Regions from separate parts of the Homo sapiens genome. Here region 2 is linked to region 1. The links are contacts of gene promoters, found by promoter capture Hi-C in blood cells and fetal thymus (Javierre and others, 2016). All regions are on one chromosome and are shown on one strand. The core of a region is centred on a gene start or on the middle of the fragment in contact, and the rest is flanking DNA. Distances in the headings are between cores, read along the strand shown.

Region 1 (7,344 bases), core at 3,693-6,192:
AGCACAGCTCTGAAGGCCTTCAGTGCTGGATAGTTCAGATCCAGTCTCTTGGCACCCTTTTTAGAGGGTGTCTCAAGGAATCTTACCAAGTTTTATAATAGTAGTCATAGTACAGTATGGCTTTTGAAATAACTTATTTTTTCAGGTCTGAGCTGTAAAGCAAGCCTATATAACACCTCACTATGGCCCATTTCTCTTAACTGGCCTTCCTGTTTCCATTCTTCTATAGAATAATCTTTTAAAAATGTAACTTAGACCATGTCATGCCTTAAAACTCTCCAATGCCTATTGCTGTGCTTAGGGGAAAAAATACAGATTTCTTATATTGGTTTAAAAAACCCTTCCTGACCTGACCCTCTGGCAACCTTGGGGACTTCATCTCATACTACTTCTTGTCCCCCTGCACTCCAGACCACTACGCTGGCATTCTTTCAGTTCCGTGAACATGCCGAGCTCATTTCTGCTTTATGACTTCTTATCTTTTTTCTTAGCTGTTTCCTGAGCCAGACACGCAAAGAAGCATTAAGCAGTTACTATCTTGGCCAAGGCATTCCGGCATCAGGGGAAATGGAAGTGGAAGCACACTTAGAAAATGATGGATAGGCTTCTGGGTAAAAACAAACAAAAACAAGAAACAAACAAAAAACATCTCTTCCCTATAAGAACCACAAAGGACAATACAGGAATGACTGTGCTTCAGGCACTGAGAGTATCCATTTGCTTTGAGATACCTGCCTTCCCCTTTAGAGCAACAGTCCCCAATCTTTTTGGCACCAGGGACCAGTTTAGTGGAAAACAATCTTTCCATGGATGGGGCGGGGTGGGGGTTGGGGATGAAACTGAAACTGTTCCACCTGAGATCATCAGGCTTTCGTTAGATTCTCATAAGGACCACCGCCCACCTAGATCCCTTGCATGCGCAGTTCACATTAGGGCTCAGGCTCCTATGAGAATCTCATGCCACTGCTGATCTGACAGTAGGTGGGAGCTCAGGTGGTAATGCTCCCTCACTGGCTGCTCACCTCCTGCTGTGTGGCCCAGTTCCTAACAGGCCACGGACTAGTTCCAGTCTACAGCTGGAGGCTGGGGACTCCTGCTTTCATAGCGCCCTAACTTTCTGAAGGGAAAGGACAATGCATGTTTGTAGCTCAACTAATGAGGCTGTACAAGAGAGGCTTCCAAACCCATTCATCACCTGAGGACCTTACAGAAAGAGAGGTTCCTGACTCAAGTAAAATGTGAAAAAAGTTATGACACTTCTGATTCGAATGGAAACTTGAATACTTACTGAATATTTAATAACATTAATCATTCATTGCTGCTTAGGAATCATAAAGGCATTGTGGTGAAGTCTTTAAAAGTTTTAATCTTTTAGCAATCTATATTAAAATATTAGGGATTAAATTATATCTGAGATTTACTTCAACATAATACTAGAGACTGAAAAATGTCAGAAGAGGGGCTTTTTTTTTTTACAGGTTTCATCTGAATACATATTTATCAGATCAATATTACAGGTTATCACATTATCTACTACATACAGCTTTGCAAGACAGAAATCACAGTTTTCTGGCCAAGGTATGAAATGATTGCATTGTATATACAATGTACAAGGACAATGACAGTTTCTGGGTGATTTACTTCTAGCTGCACTTGTGGGTGTGTTTACGCGTGTCCATGTGAATCACCTGAGATTATGATATCAAAAATTTATAAGTATAAATTCGGTTATAATTTTCTTCTCAAATGCCTGTTTCTTTTCTTATCCTCATAGCACCCTAAAAAATAACATAACAAAAATTCCATTCCATAAAGGATCAGGGTCAACGTCACTGGTAACAGCTATAATCGACATCATTGGCCAGGGGTTAATGGCTGGATGAGGGATTCATTATAGTCTTCTGTCTTCCTCAGTATATGTTTGAAATTTTCCATAAGACAAATTTTTTTTAAATAGAGATTTCTGGGCCCCCAGCAGATTTTTCTCTCAATGGCTCTCCACTGCCACTACTAGGAAATTCGCCAGCAGTATTCCTCCTTACCTACCTATGCTATACAATGTATGAGTACTGGGAGGCAGGGGAAGGGTCTTGTTAATCAAAGCTCCCATCCTCTAAATATAATCCTCAGGAAGAAAGTATATGATTGGAGTAATTTATACAAGGTCTGCATTTAACAGTTAATCCAAAGAATGGATGCTTACAGTTTAAAGGAATTAAAGGAAAATCTAGAAAATCTGAAAGATCATTTCTCTCAGGGAGGAACTCTAGATTTTAGATTAAAGAAATCACACTTGAAACTGTACCTCTACAACAACTCTATCTTGCGTCACTCTGTCCCTAGCCCAGTACAATTCACCTCACTAACCCTCTGCTTCCTCAAACATGTTAAAGTTCATTTTGCCTAATGGCCTGCATTTTAGCCGTATGTTCTATTCAAGAATGCTTCTTTTCTTCTCCTTCTCCTTCTTATTTTTTTTTTATTTTTTTGAGACAGGGTCTCATTTTGTAACCCAGGCTGGAGCACAGTGACATGATCATGGCTAACTGCAGCCTTGACCTCCTGGGTTCAGGTGATCCTCCCACTTCAGCCACTCAAGCAGCTGGGACTACAGGCCTGCATCACCATGCCCAGCTAATTTTTGTATTTCTTGTAAAGACAGGGTTTTGCTATGTTGCCTAGGCTGGTCTCCAGCTCTTAGGTTCAAGCTATTTGTCTGCCTCAGCCTCCCAAAGTGCTGGATTACAGGCAAAAGCCACCGTGCCTGGCACTCAAGGACTCATTTTCCTCAGATCATTCCATGGCTGGCTCATGCACTTTATTCATATCTCTACCTCAAAGCTGCATTTTCGGGAAGGCCTTCCCTGATACTTCTCCTTCAGTACAAACTACTTTTGACCTTAAGCTGTTATTTCAGGACTCTCATCTGACTAAATGAAACTATTTTATTTGCATACTAATTTATTGTCAGTCTCTTATATCGGGAATATAAGATCTCTGACTATAAAGCTCTTGTACCTTTTGTTGATAGATGCATCCTGACCTCCTATCACAGGGTGTGGCTAAAATAGGGACTTAAAATAGGTATTCAAAACCTGAATACCTATTTCTGAATACCTGAAACATGTCCATTTAGAAGGGTACTTTCCTGTGTCCCTACATCATGTTGGAGGTTGTAAACACAAATGCTACAGGGCTCAGATGGGTACTAAAGACAAAGAAAAACTAGATATTACTTGAACTGAGGTAAAGGAGGCAGATGCTTTCCAGCTTGAACCATTGTTGCCAGGCTACAATGCACATCTAACGTAGTCAGATCTTCCCGTTAATTCATGGGATGCCACATTGTTTTTATTCTTTCAATTTTAGCTGTTAGCAACCAATTTGAAAAAAAAAAAAGTAGCATGTGAATCACCAGTTGCAAGCTCTGTTCATACAAATAAGACAATTCGACATTAATTAAAAGGAGAAACTGGGAAAAGATATTGAGCAGACTGTACAGTAGTGTTTGTAATGGTGAAAAATGGGAAACAACCTAAACATCCATCACTATGGGAATTCCCAAATAATTTGTGACAAATCTATTTGATAAAGTCTAGCTATATTTATCAATGTGGATAGCTCTCAAAAACACAGAATTTGGTGAAAAAATCAAGTTGCAGATCAATACACAAAATATAATAGCATTCATGTAAAACTTCAAATGCCCCAAACCATTCTACATATTGTTTATAATACATAGTAATAGTTTAAATATAGAAACCTAGATTGGCAAGATACATATCAAATTCATGATCCTGGTTGCCTCTCTGAGGGTGGTAGTAGAATGGGACTGAGAATAGGGAACACCTTCTTTATCTGTAATGCTCCATTTCTTTCATTCATAAATCTGTTCGTTCTGGATAGTGGGTGCGTTGTTTATTCTGTGCTTTTTTTTTTTAACATTTCAATAGTTTTGTTTTTTTTTTTTAAATGGCGGGTGGCGGAAGAACATCCTATCCTAGAAGCCAAGAGACTGGGGTTGTCTTTGCTCTGCCTTTTCTGGCATGGATACAATCTCTAGATATGGTTTCCCCATTAGCTAATGCGGGGGGTGCTATGTGGTGTTCCTCCAGAGTCCCTTCAATCTAAGGACCTGTGAATCTAAAACCTTCCCACCTCCCACTCCAACACCGGGAAGGCTACCCAGACCAGGCAATGAAACGTGCATTTCTTCCCTCATTTAAGATAGATCTCTTTCTCTCAGCCTGCAATTCCTTCTCCAGAGGCTTTAAGTATAGTGGAAGTAGAACTATCTTTGACGACAGAGAGACACCTGCATCAATTAGCCTTTCTGAGCCTCAAATTCCCCATTTGTAAAACAGAGAGTATAACACCTACCCATAAAATTGTAGAGAGGTTTAGATACACCGTTATGTGTAGGGCCCGAACAGAGTAGCTATTAATAGTGGTAACAGACTCTCAATTAGGGGCTCAACATCATGGTCGCTGAACAGAATCACGGTCGCTGAACAGAATCACACTCTTCACGCCGCCTTGGAGCCAAAATTAGTTTAGCCGCGAGAAGTCCGGGCAACCAATCGGAAACAACCAAGGAACAGTTGCATGGCGACACTCTGGTTCCGCCTTCGGGCATGCTCGAACAGCATTCTGGGAATTGTAGTTCGGGGGGGGAATCTAACACTCACCGAGGGGCGGAGTAGCTTCCGGAAAGGGTACTGCATTTCCCGTTTCTACCTCCACTGCACCCGCTTATTGCGTCTTGCTCCTGGGTCACAGAGCCTAAAACGACACACCCAACACGCCCGCCGGAGTTACAGCTAAAGGAAGGACAGGGGAAGCAATGAAATGCCGAGGGCGGAGCCAAGAGCGACACTGGGGGAGCAGGAAAAGGCGGGGCTTCCGCTTGGGGCATGGAGGCTGTACCTCTTACGTCACTTCCGTAAACAAACGGAGCTGCGGAGGAGCGGGTCCCGGGATGTGACCGGGGCTCTGCTTGTGGCTGCGGCGGTGGCTTCTGAGGCTGTCGGGTCTTTGCGGGTTGCGGAAGGGGGCCCCAATACCCTTCTTCTTCAGGTATGTAGTGGAAGCAAAGGAACCTCCGCAACCTGCCCCTTTAGGCCCTTCCCACCACTCTGGTCACTGCTGGGTACTGGGCGGTGAAGGGTCATCGCTTCGGTAGATTGGGGAAGGGGAATGAGGTGATGTCAAGAGGGATGCCCAGTGGTACTGCTTGGAGGCAAGACCTGGCACTTAAAACCACTGTGTGAATAAGTAACTATGAGCAGTTTACTTATTATGCCTTCTCTAAAACATTCTTTGCTGTTTGATATACAGGAAGGGTTTCAGTGCTCTTGTGACAGATGTAATTTTCCAAAAACGAGGAAATCGCGAGTGCTGGCTCCGCAGAATATTGTGGTTTAGACCACCACTGGTTTATTTGCATTGCTTTACTTCCTAGATTTTTTTTTCTTGTACCACCAAGTGTGTATTAGCATCGTTAAATTTCAGGCCAGCGTGTTTATGCGTATCATACATTTTTACAGATCCTTGCCTCTTCAGAGAACTAATCGTCTCTATTCAGTCATCTTTCAAACTCTCATTTAATTTGTGTTGCATGTTGAAACAACACCAGAATTATTGTTCTGTTACAAAAAATGCTTCTTAAAAGAAAAATTGTTAGCCAAGGTTTAAGTGGATTGACACCCAGTGGTATCTGGGATTAGAGACTGGGCATTGGAGCCTTTCCCAGAAAGCCTCTTCTTTGGCAGTATTGTAGCTCCAGTTGTAATTGTCTAGCGTCAGCCAATTTAAGCTCAGTGGTTTAAATTCCAGTGCCAGTGGCACTAAGTCCAGGCAAAAGGAAAAAGAAAAATTTATTGAATTCATCAAATAATTATTTTAAGCGACAGCAATGGGTTTGAATCTTTTTGAATGGTCATGGCATGCCTAAATTAAACACAGCATGCCAAAAACGGCCTAATGTTTCTAGAAGGCAATTTACAACCTGATGAGGTAGAGATAGCCATATAAATTCATCTTATGATATATGAAATAATGAAGTTAAGAAAAATTTAACACTATGCACAAATAAAGTATGGAAGGGGTTTTTTTGTTTTGTTTTGTTTTGTTTTGTTTTGTTTTTGAGACGGAGTCTCGCTCTGTCGCAGTGGCACCATCTCGGCTCAGGGCAAGCTCCGCCTCCCGGGTTCATGCCATTGTCCTGCCTCAGCCTCCTGAGTAGCTGGGACTACAGGCGCCCGCCACCACTCCCGGCTAATTTTTTGTATTTTTAGTAGAGACGGGGTTTCACCGTGTTAGCCAGGATGGTCTCGATCTCCTGACCTCGTGATCCGCCCGCCTTGGCCTTCCAAAGTGCTGGGATTACAGGCGTGAGCCCGGCCGGAAGGGTATTTTTTAAATAGATGGATGTTAGAAAATAGAGCGGATTAATAGATAAAGTAAGGGGATTGTGTAGGGATAACTAGGAGGCCTTACACGTATTCCGCATGGAAGGGCCATCTGTAACTTCACATTGTTAACTTTTTTGATATGGGCAAAACTAAATATATATCATAAAATTCACGTTTGTTTGGAAATGGTTAGAGAAAGTATATTCAAAATAGGCAACGAACAAGTTTGATTTTCTAGAACTTCACTTATCACCAAGCTAGAATCATTATTAGCCCTAGCTAGAAACTGAGTTTCTGTTTAGTAGTTGAAGTAAGGCTTCTAGTTGATTTTTAAAATGCTAGTAAAATCCCTATGACAATTATACATCTGTTTGAATCTACTTGGTTCTTCTTAAGCATACATTTTGGAAGAAAGACCTAAAGGCCACCTGAAGCTTGAATCAGGCTGGGAATATTATGTGGATCATTTGTTTATTGTTTATATGTTGTTCCCCTTGTAAAATGTAGGCTTCTTGAGGTCAAACACCTTGTTCAGTGCCGTCTCTCCAGTACCCACAATAGTGTCTGGCTTGTGGAAGAGAATCAGTAAATATTTGTAGGATGAAGAAATAAAGAAAATGGTAAAACAAAACAAAACAAAAACTGTCTACCAGACAATTTTGCTAGGGGCTTATGGGTACATAGTAGAGTACATTAAACTTAAGAGACCCATTTTCTAACTTTCTCTTATGCCCTCTGGAATTCTTGATCCTCTTTTGACCCTGTGAAATGGGTCTTTGAATTTCTTTCATGTTTGCATATTATAGCATACATATATAATTGCTGTATTCCTTATTTAGGTCTTAAGAAGCTGGCCGTGGTGCAATAAGGAACTTAAAACAATGGAAGAGCGGAAAGTGAAGAGGAGGAGTCCTAAGTCTTTTAGTGCCCA
Region 2 (6,934 bases), core at 2,195-4,694, 350 kb before region 1:
GATGATGAATTGGGAACCCAATTTACCTGTCCCTCTTAAACAACTAAAAGCCCAGACAAAATATATGAAACAATGGTTTTCAGACACTGAAAGTTCATAGTACAGGACTGTGATCTCTGCGAGAAGGGGGAATAATGAGGTGAGTCCAGTGATTGCTCAGGCGAATGGCCTGGAGGCAGTTTCTAGGCAGCAAAGCAGGGAGAGGGAAGCCAGAGACCAGTGGTCCTGCTGTGTTGAGGAGATGGAGATCAGTGTCACCGGAGGCCAAGGTGAGTAAGTGAGAGGAGAGGAGGCAGCAGCACACAGACAGAGAGTGCTGTAGATCTGCAGTGGGTCCCCTGGAGTCCTTGGTTGAGTGAAGGTGTTAGAAGAAACTACTTAAGCCAAGAAATGAGTAACTGGAAATTAGTAGAGCAAATAATTTACAGATCATCTATGGGGCTGGGAAAAGTTTGTGTTTCCACTAGCCAGAGTAGAAATAACTCATAATGCATGGGTCATCAGGTGGAGTCCTCCAACAGGTGTTGCCTTAGTACTGAGGTCAAATTGTCCCTAGACCAAAGGCTTCTTTGGACTTCCCCTAACAAAGCTTAAAGACAAGCCTTGGAAGGATCAAACTAATTTCAAGAAACTTAACTGTGAATCAGAATAAAACCCAATACCATTTATAGGAATATAACAAAATCCATCAACAAACAACATAACACTCATAATTACCAACATTCAGTAAAAAATTACTGGAAACAGAGAAATATAAATTATGGCCCATAATTAGGAAAAAAGGGTAATCATTAGAAGTAGAACCAGAAGTGACAGATATGAAGAAATTAGCAGCTTGAATTATGTGATGTGGCAGATCTTATGTATTGGAGGTAGGGGGAAAGAAGATGCAGTGTGGAATAGATGACAAGGCCCAATGAGAGAATCACAGTGCAGGTCCCTGGGGCCCTGAAGGAAGGTGGTTCTAACCACAGGAGAGGATCATATGCTTTTTGAAAAACAGCCTCTGCTGTGCTACTGGGCCCTGGTAGACACGGAACTTTGAGACCCAGTGATGCTGTATCCAGAACTGCTCATCTTAACTAGGTCCTGTGGGAAGCACTAAGTCATAAGCTAGTAGGATCGGCAGCAGCCCATTGGAAGATGGAAATGATATGTACAGGAGCAGTTCCAAGCCAGACCAGAGGACATAAGCAAACTGCAAGAGCAATTACTCCAACCGCCATGTCTGCACAGTGGCACCTACATCCCCCCTCCCTGTGGTTGTTGGAGGACCTGTATGATCCACTGAAGGAAGAGGAATGCTTGGGCTTGGTTTATTGATTAGTTATCTTCTGTAGTTGCAAGCTGAAAATGGACCTTCACTCAAAGGTGACATTGAAAAACGGGAAAAAAATTGCAATCTTCCTGCAAAAACTGGGCAGAATTTTTTGAGGTACACTGGATCATTCACCTTGTGAGGGAGGACAGGTAAAATATTTATGGAAGTGGCAGAAAATGGCCTGCCAGCTGATCAGGAGTTTGGGAGGAAAAAAACATGGATTAGGAGGTCTGGGGTAGAGGCATGTGGATGGGCATATGGAGTGAACACAGAAGTTGAAAAACTGTATCACATGTTAATGCCCACTAGATAGCACCCACCAGAGAAGAGGCACTAAACAACCAAGTAGATGAAATGACTTAGCCTGTTCTATTAGCTTTTGCCAGTGCCCACCTCAGTGCTGGTAAAATGCACACATAAAGTGGCAGTGGTGGCAAAGATGGAGGCTATGGATGGAACCCACCAACATGGGCTCCCACTTACCAAGGCCAACTTAGACACTGCTCACTGTGACTATCCAACCTGCCTGCAACAAATACCAATGCTGAGACCCTGATGAGGCTGTGAAGACCAACTGGTCGCTTGATAGCAAATTCACTATGGTAGGCTCATTCTTTCCTAGAAGCACCAGCAGTTTATTCACACAAGGACAGACTTCCTATTCTAGGTATGTGGTTCCTTTCGGGCCTACAGGGTCCTGAACACAATCTAAGGACTTACAAAACATCTGAACTGTCAGCGTAGATTTGCTGAATACGTGATCTATACATGTTAACACCCAATCAGGGAGAGTTCGCCAGCGGTCATAGGATCCACTGCTCCTATCACATACTGCGCCACCTAGAAGCTGCTAGACTGATGGAATGTTGGCATGGCCTGCTTTAGTGCCAGGTGGGAGACAATACCCTGCCAAGATGTGCCACCGTCTCCTGCACACAGTATACTTATTGAATCAGAAAGCCTGTATGATGCTGTGTCTACAACAGGAATATATAGATTTCAGAACCAAGGAGTGGAGGCAGGAGTGACCCCACTTACCATCGCACCCAACGAACCACTGAGGGACTTAGTACTTCCCATGCCCACAACTCCAGGTTCTACAGCATCAGAAGTCCTAGTTCTCAGAGACTGTATACCTTCTCTAGGCAATATTGCAAGAATCCCATTGAACTACAGTCTGCTGCTACTATGTGGGCACTTTGGACTCTGTGTTCAGGGACCAGTAGGCAAGAAGTCACCATCTAGTCAAGGGTAATTGACCCTGAACTGCAGGAGGAGGCAAGCCTGCTGTCAGAGGATAGTGGCGAGAGCAATGTGTGTGGAACTTAGCGGACCCACTGGAGGCACCCTCTGTACTCCTTGCCCAGTTGTAACTGAATGGACTAGTGCAGCAACCCTGGTCTGAGAAGGGTTTGGCTCCCAGGAGCTCAGGACCCTCAGGAATGAGAGCTTGGTTTATACTATCAAAAAAGCCACCAAGACCAGCAAAGATGACAGTTGTGGGTGAGGGGAATTTAGAATGAAGCAGGGAGTAATGAGGACCAGTTGTGGTTCCAAAACCATTTGCAGGAAGGTGCTATAGTTGGTCCTACCAAACTCCTCTTTCAACATTTATCCTCAGGAAGAGAGGTCCATTGGCGCCCTGAAACAGTCACTCTCTGCGTGTTTTTGGGAAAATGGATCCACATAGGCAAGGGGTGGACCATGGCAGGCATAGAGCGGTGCCACTTAGATCCCCCTTCAAGACAAGATATGCCATCCAGCTGCAAGGAGTGTGGGTAGCTGGCAGCCACCAGCTGCTACTTCACCAGGATCCACCTTAGCTTTCAAGCTGAGGTCACGCTATTCTCAAGACAGGAGGGGTTGGTGGCCAATGATTTCACTAAATTATGGAAATTGAGAGCATGCTTTTCTGAGGGGGCCCTCTTGCCAAAGACCAAGCAAGGCCATGGTACAAGGACCTAACTGTTTCAGTCCAACACAGGACTCCTCCAATGAGTGACCTTTTTCCCAGAGTTCCCCTGGGATGGCAGCTCGCCTGCTCTCCCTGCCTCGTCCTGCTTCCTCTTTTCCTTTCAAAGGTGCTTACTCCAATAATAAATCCTTTGGTATTCTAACTGTCTACTTCTTGAAGAATCTAAACTGGCAGTAGGATCATGCCCCTCACTGATAGCTCAACCACGTTTTCTATCTTTGGGCCTCCTTGTCTTTACCTAGCACATGAGAAGCATTTATTAGGACTTTTTTTCCCCCATTGCTGAACAAATGACTACAGATTGCTCTACCTCTTGTTCTGTGAATAAAGGCTGGCCGCTGTGGAAGGTAGGTCAGAGCAGGCAACTGAGAGAAACTGTATTACAGTTACCGAGTGGCTTATTAAGGAAAGTGGCGCAACAATCAGGTCCATGTTTCATTCAAATGACCCTCCATTCCCCCAACAACATCCTCACATCTGCCAAAGCAAATTATGCTGCTGTGCTCATTTGATGATGGAATCAGCATCGCATGCAGGCTGAACCCCTACTACGGCAGAACCAAGAAAGCCACTCTTTCCCCTCTCCTCCTAAGATGCCACCACAGAGCAGGGTGCCAGTGGTGGGTGGGGAGAAAGACGGAGACACAGAAACGTCTCCTTTTCACTGTGATTCTCCTAAGGAATATACAGTCACCCCCACAGGAAAAGCAAGAGTTCAATCAAGATTCTTCAGAAATAGTAGGATGGCAGAAAGCAGATCGCATTGAGGTTGTTTCCAACTGACAGACCAAGCAGTAATTTGTTTCTCTCCCCACTGATAGTAAAAATAAAGTGGAAATAATTTAGGGCTGGGGCTTCTGTGATTATCTGGAACTTAAAGTATGAGGGTATGAGAGCCATCAGATCTACCCCTGTGGAGCTTTTTAAGATGCGGTCCATAACAGAAGCGGGCCCCAAGGAGTAGAGTAGCCACATGGAAGGTGCCATGTTTCAGGGATGAGTCTCGATTCTTCTCTCCCTGTATTTCATCCATGCCTGTAAGAAGTTCTCACGTCTCTCCACATGCCACGTCATCTGAACCGCCAGGCGATAGGTTATTCGTATTTTATTCCAAAGTCCATAGGACACGATGTGGACTTGTTTTTCCACGTGCCCTTGTAGATGGTGCCATCCAGTGTCTGTGATGTTCCACCTCCTCTGTTGGGTTGTCACCTCCCCCAGAGACCTTCTGGTCTCACTGCTTTTCTGTTTGTATCCAGCAAAACACTCAACAATTCTGTATAAGAACACCTATCTCATTATTCAAAAAAAATGCATGTATAAACAAAAAGAAATATTTCAAATATTTACTTTACAATTGTTTTATTCAAAGGAAATTAAATACAAATGTATATTTTTCATTAAAAATGGGGATTTAAAAATAGTTTTATAATTAGTGTTATGTTGCTTTATCTTATCTTTGCATAAATTATGTATTATTAAAGGTTTCTGATATCCATATACATTCTAGTCTTTTTTAGGCAGCTATGAGAAGATTTCATATTCAAAAGCCAATGCCACTTTTCTAAAGAAACGATCTTTGTGCCAAATTAGTAGACAATTGCTCCAAATCTCTGGTCTTGACTTCCGGTTGTGTGAAGAGCAGTGTTTTGTTTTTTTCAGAGAAGGGAAAGAGCCTTCATTCTTTAGGTTTGTTTTTGCCTCAAAGACATTTCTATATGGGTATCTAAAGTTTTAGTTTATAAGTCTCATAATGATTTGACCCATGCAGTCCAACTTTTAGATAGTATTTCCATACCCCCCAAAAGCTGGCAGGTGGTAGTCGCACTAGATTCAGACCAAGACTCTCCGCATTGTCATCCTAGGTCCTTCTAATGAAGAAGACAATACTCTAGTTTATTTAACAAATAAAGGAGTCTAAGTACATGGAAGTTAAGGGAGTAAGGGTGGGGGTAATGAGATTATTACATTAAAATAAAGACTTCACACACGTGTGTCCCATGTCTAAAATTGTTGAAAATCTGATTGGAGAAGATTAGAAGTAATTAGCAACTCAATTATTTATAAACAAATATAAAAATGCACAAACCAAATGATGCAAAAAAACCTTTTTAATCTAAAAATTCATTTCCCAGGGCTAATTGATAGCCAGGCCCTACCAATTTTTATCAGTTTATTTGACTAACAAGAGCTATTCAGCATTTTCTTCAAAGTAAGATAATATATAATAGATTTTGATAAATCTTTCTGAATTAGGACATGATACTGTAGGCAGTTCAAGGAAAAAAAAATAGCCATAACTTTTTCTTTGGTGTAACCAAAAGGATATCCAAAAGTTAGCAAATGTTGACATTTCAAGTGACAGGAAATTGCCTAATGGAAGTTTAAACTCTGGTTAAAAAAAAAAAAAAAAAAAAACTGTTGTAAAAGGAAAAGCTCCACCCATAGTTCTGTAGTGCAAGTTTTCAAATTTAATTCTGAAAAATAATTTTATTTCATAGGCAGGAAACAAATTCCAGCAGTGTATCACTTACTCCTTTCCAACCCTTCCCCTCTCTCTATGTCCACACCATCACTTCAGTTGTCAATGACCTCAGCTGCTACTCAAGGAGGAAATTCATTAAAAAATTACCCACACTTCTAAAAATCAGGCTACAATTGTGTGTATGTGGCTGCACAGCAGCAGGCACCAGGTTACAGCATTGCCACTTCTACGTTTGTCATTTTTACAAAAAAGAAGCAAAGTCTACCTCCCCCAGAAAAAAGTACCTGAACCAATTAGTCACTTAGCCCCTTCCCAGCCTCTCCGTGCTCACCAGACCTGCCTCACCTCAGCAGCACACGTGTGCATATATCTGTGTGTTCTGTGCATTAAGAACCAGCAACTCTACTGCCTCTTTCTTGAAGTAACATCTTCTCCTTTCTTACAAAACTCGCTGATTTCTATAAACGTAATTCTCTGAAAGCAATTACCGCCTAGACCAGAGGACTCCGTTACTCTACCAAGCTTAAGTCTGGCTTGCTTTCTTCTATTTCTGTACATGTTGTTTGTGTATATGTGTATTTTTTAAAAATTAAAAAGTGTGGAAAATGCACACATACACACCCAGCATTTAGCAAAAAAAAAAAAAAAAAAAAAAAATCTTCCCCGGGAAGCACTTTCAGAAGTTTAAGCTTCTACTTGTTCTTAAGCCACAGGGCAAGTGCCAGGTGAGTCCTAAATAACCGTTCACTCACACTGCAGGGCTGGCAACCCCGGGGCCCACAGCACAGAAGCAGAGTGGGCTCCCCGGGTGAGCCAGGGAAGGGCGCCTAGCAGGCTTCCTAGAGTGCTGCATTGCTCGTCTCCCCCCGTGTCACCTGGGAGAGTTACGTTCTTGGCCCTAACTCTCCTCGCTCAGAGAACCGCCACACTGTGGGGAGGGCTCTCTGCCCTCTGCACTGGCTGTCCCATCCACAGGGCCGGGGGCCTGGGGCTGCAGGGAGGCGGCAGGCCCCTCCCCACAGAGCAGGCCGCCCTCGTCCATCTCCTCCCTCGCCAGTCCGTCCAGGGAACATCCCTCCGCAGCGCCCAGAGCCCCGCGGGCTATGCTGTCCACAGGCTCCACGGCTTCCCCTTCTCCCTCCGAGATGACGGT

The links. Contacts are between HindIII fragments. The CHiCAGO score rates a contact against its expected background, and 5 or more counts as called.
Region 2: a contact is called between a fragment that was not itself captured here and the fragment with the promoter of CCDC28A in region 1, in 1 of 17 cell types (endothelial precursors). The highest score is 5.5, in endothelial precursors.

Annotation. Positions count from the first base shown.
Region 1 is chr6:138,768,827-138,776,170 of GRCh38, forward strand. CCDC28A (coiled-coil domain containing 28A) reads left to right here and starts at 4,943. Exons shown (of 6, transcript NM_015439.3): 1 at 4,943-5,076; 2 at 7,253-7,344. The coding sequence starts at 7,295. It overlaps CCDC28A-AS1 (CCDC28A antisense RNA 1), which reads right to left and starts at 4,877. Exons shown (of 3, transcript NR_161205.1): 1 at 4,689-4,877. RefSeq lists enhancers at 3,994-4,668, 4,669-5,342, 4,706-4,755, 4,776-4,835, 5,196-5,255. The HindIII fragment of the contact is 8,118 bases long and covers 1-6,845 here.
Region 2 is chr6:138,417,402-138,424,335 of GRCh38, forward strand. HEBP2 (heme binding protein 2) reads left to right here. Exons shown (of 4, transcript NM_014320.3): 4 at 1-4,796. NHSL1 (NHS like 1) reads right to left here. Exons shown (of 8, transcript NM_001144060.2): 8 at 4,642-6,934. The coding sequence ends at 6,680. Among named protein-coding and RNA genes, the nearest start is that of MIR3145, 14 kb to the right of the region's middle. The HindIII fragment of the contact is 5,714 bases long and covers 588-6,301 here.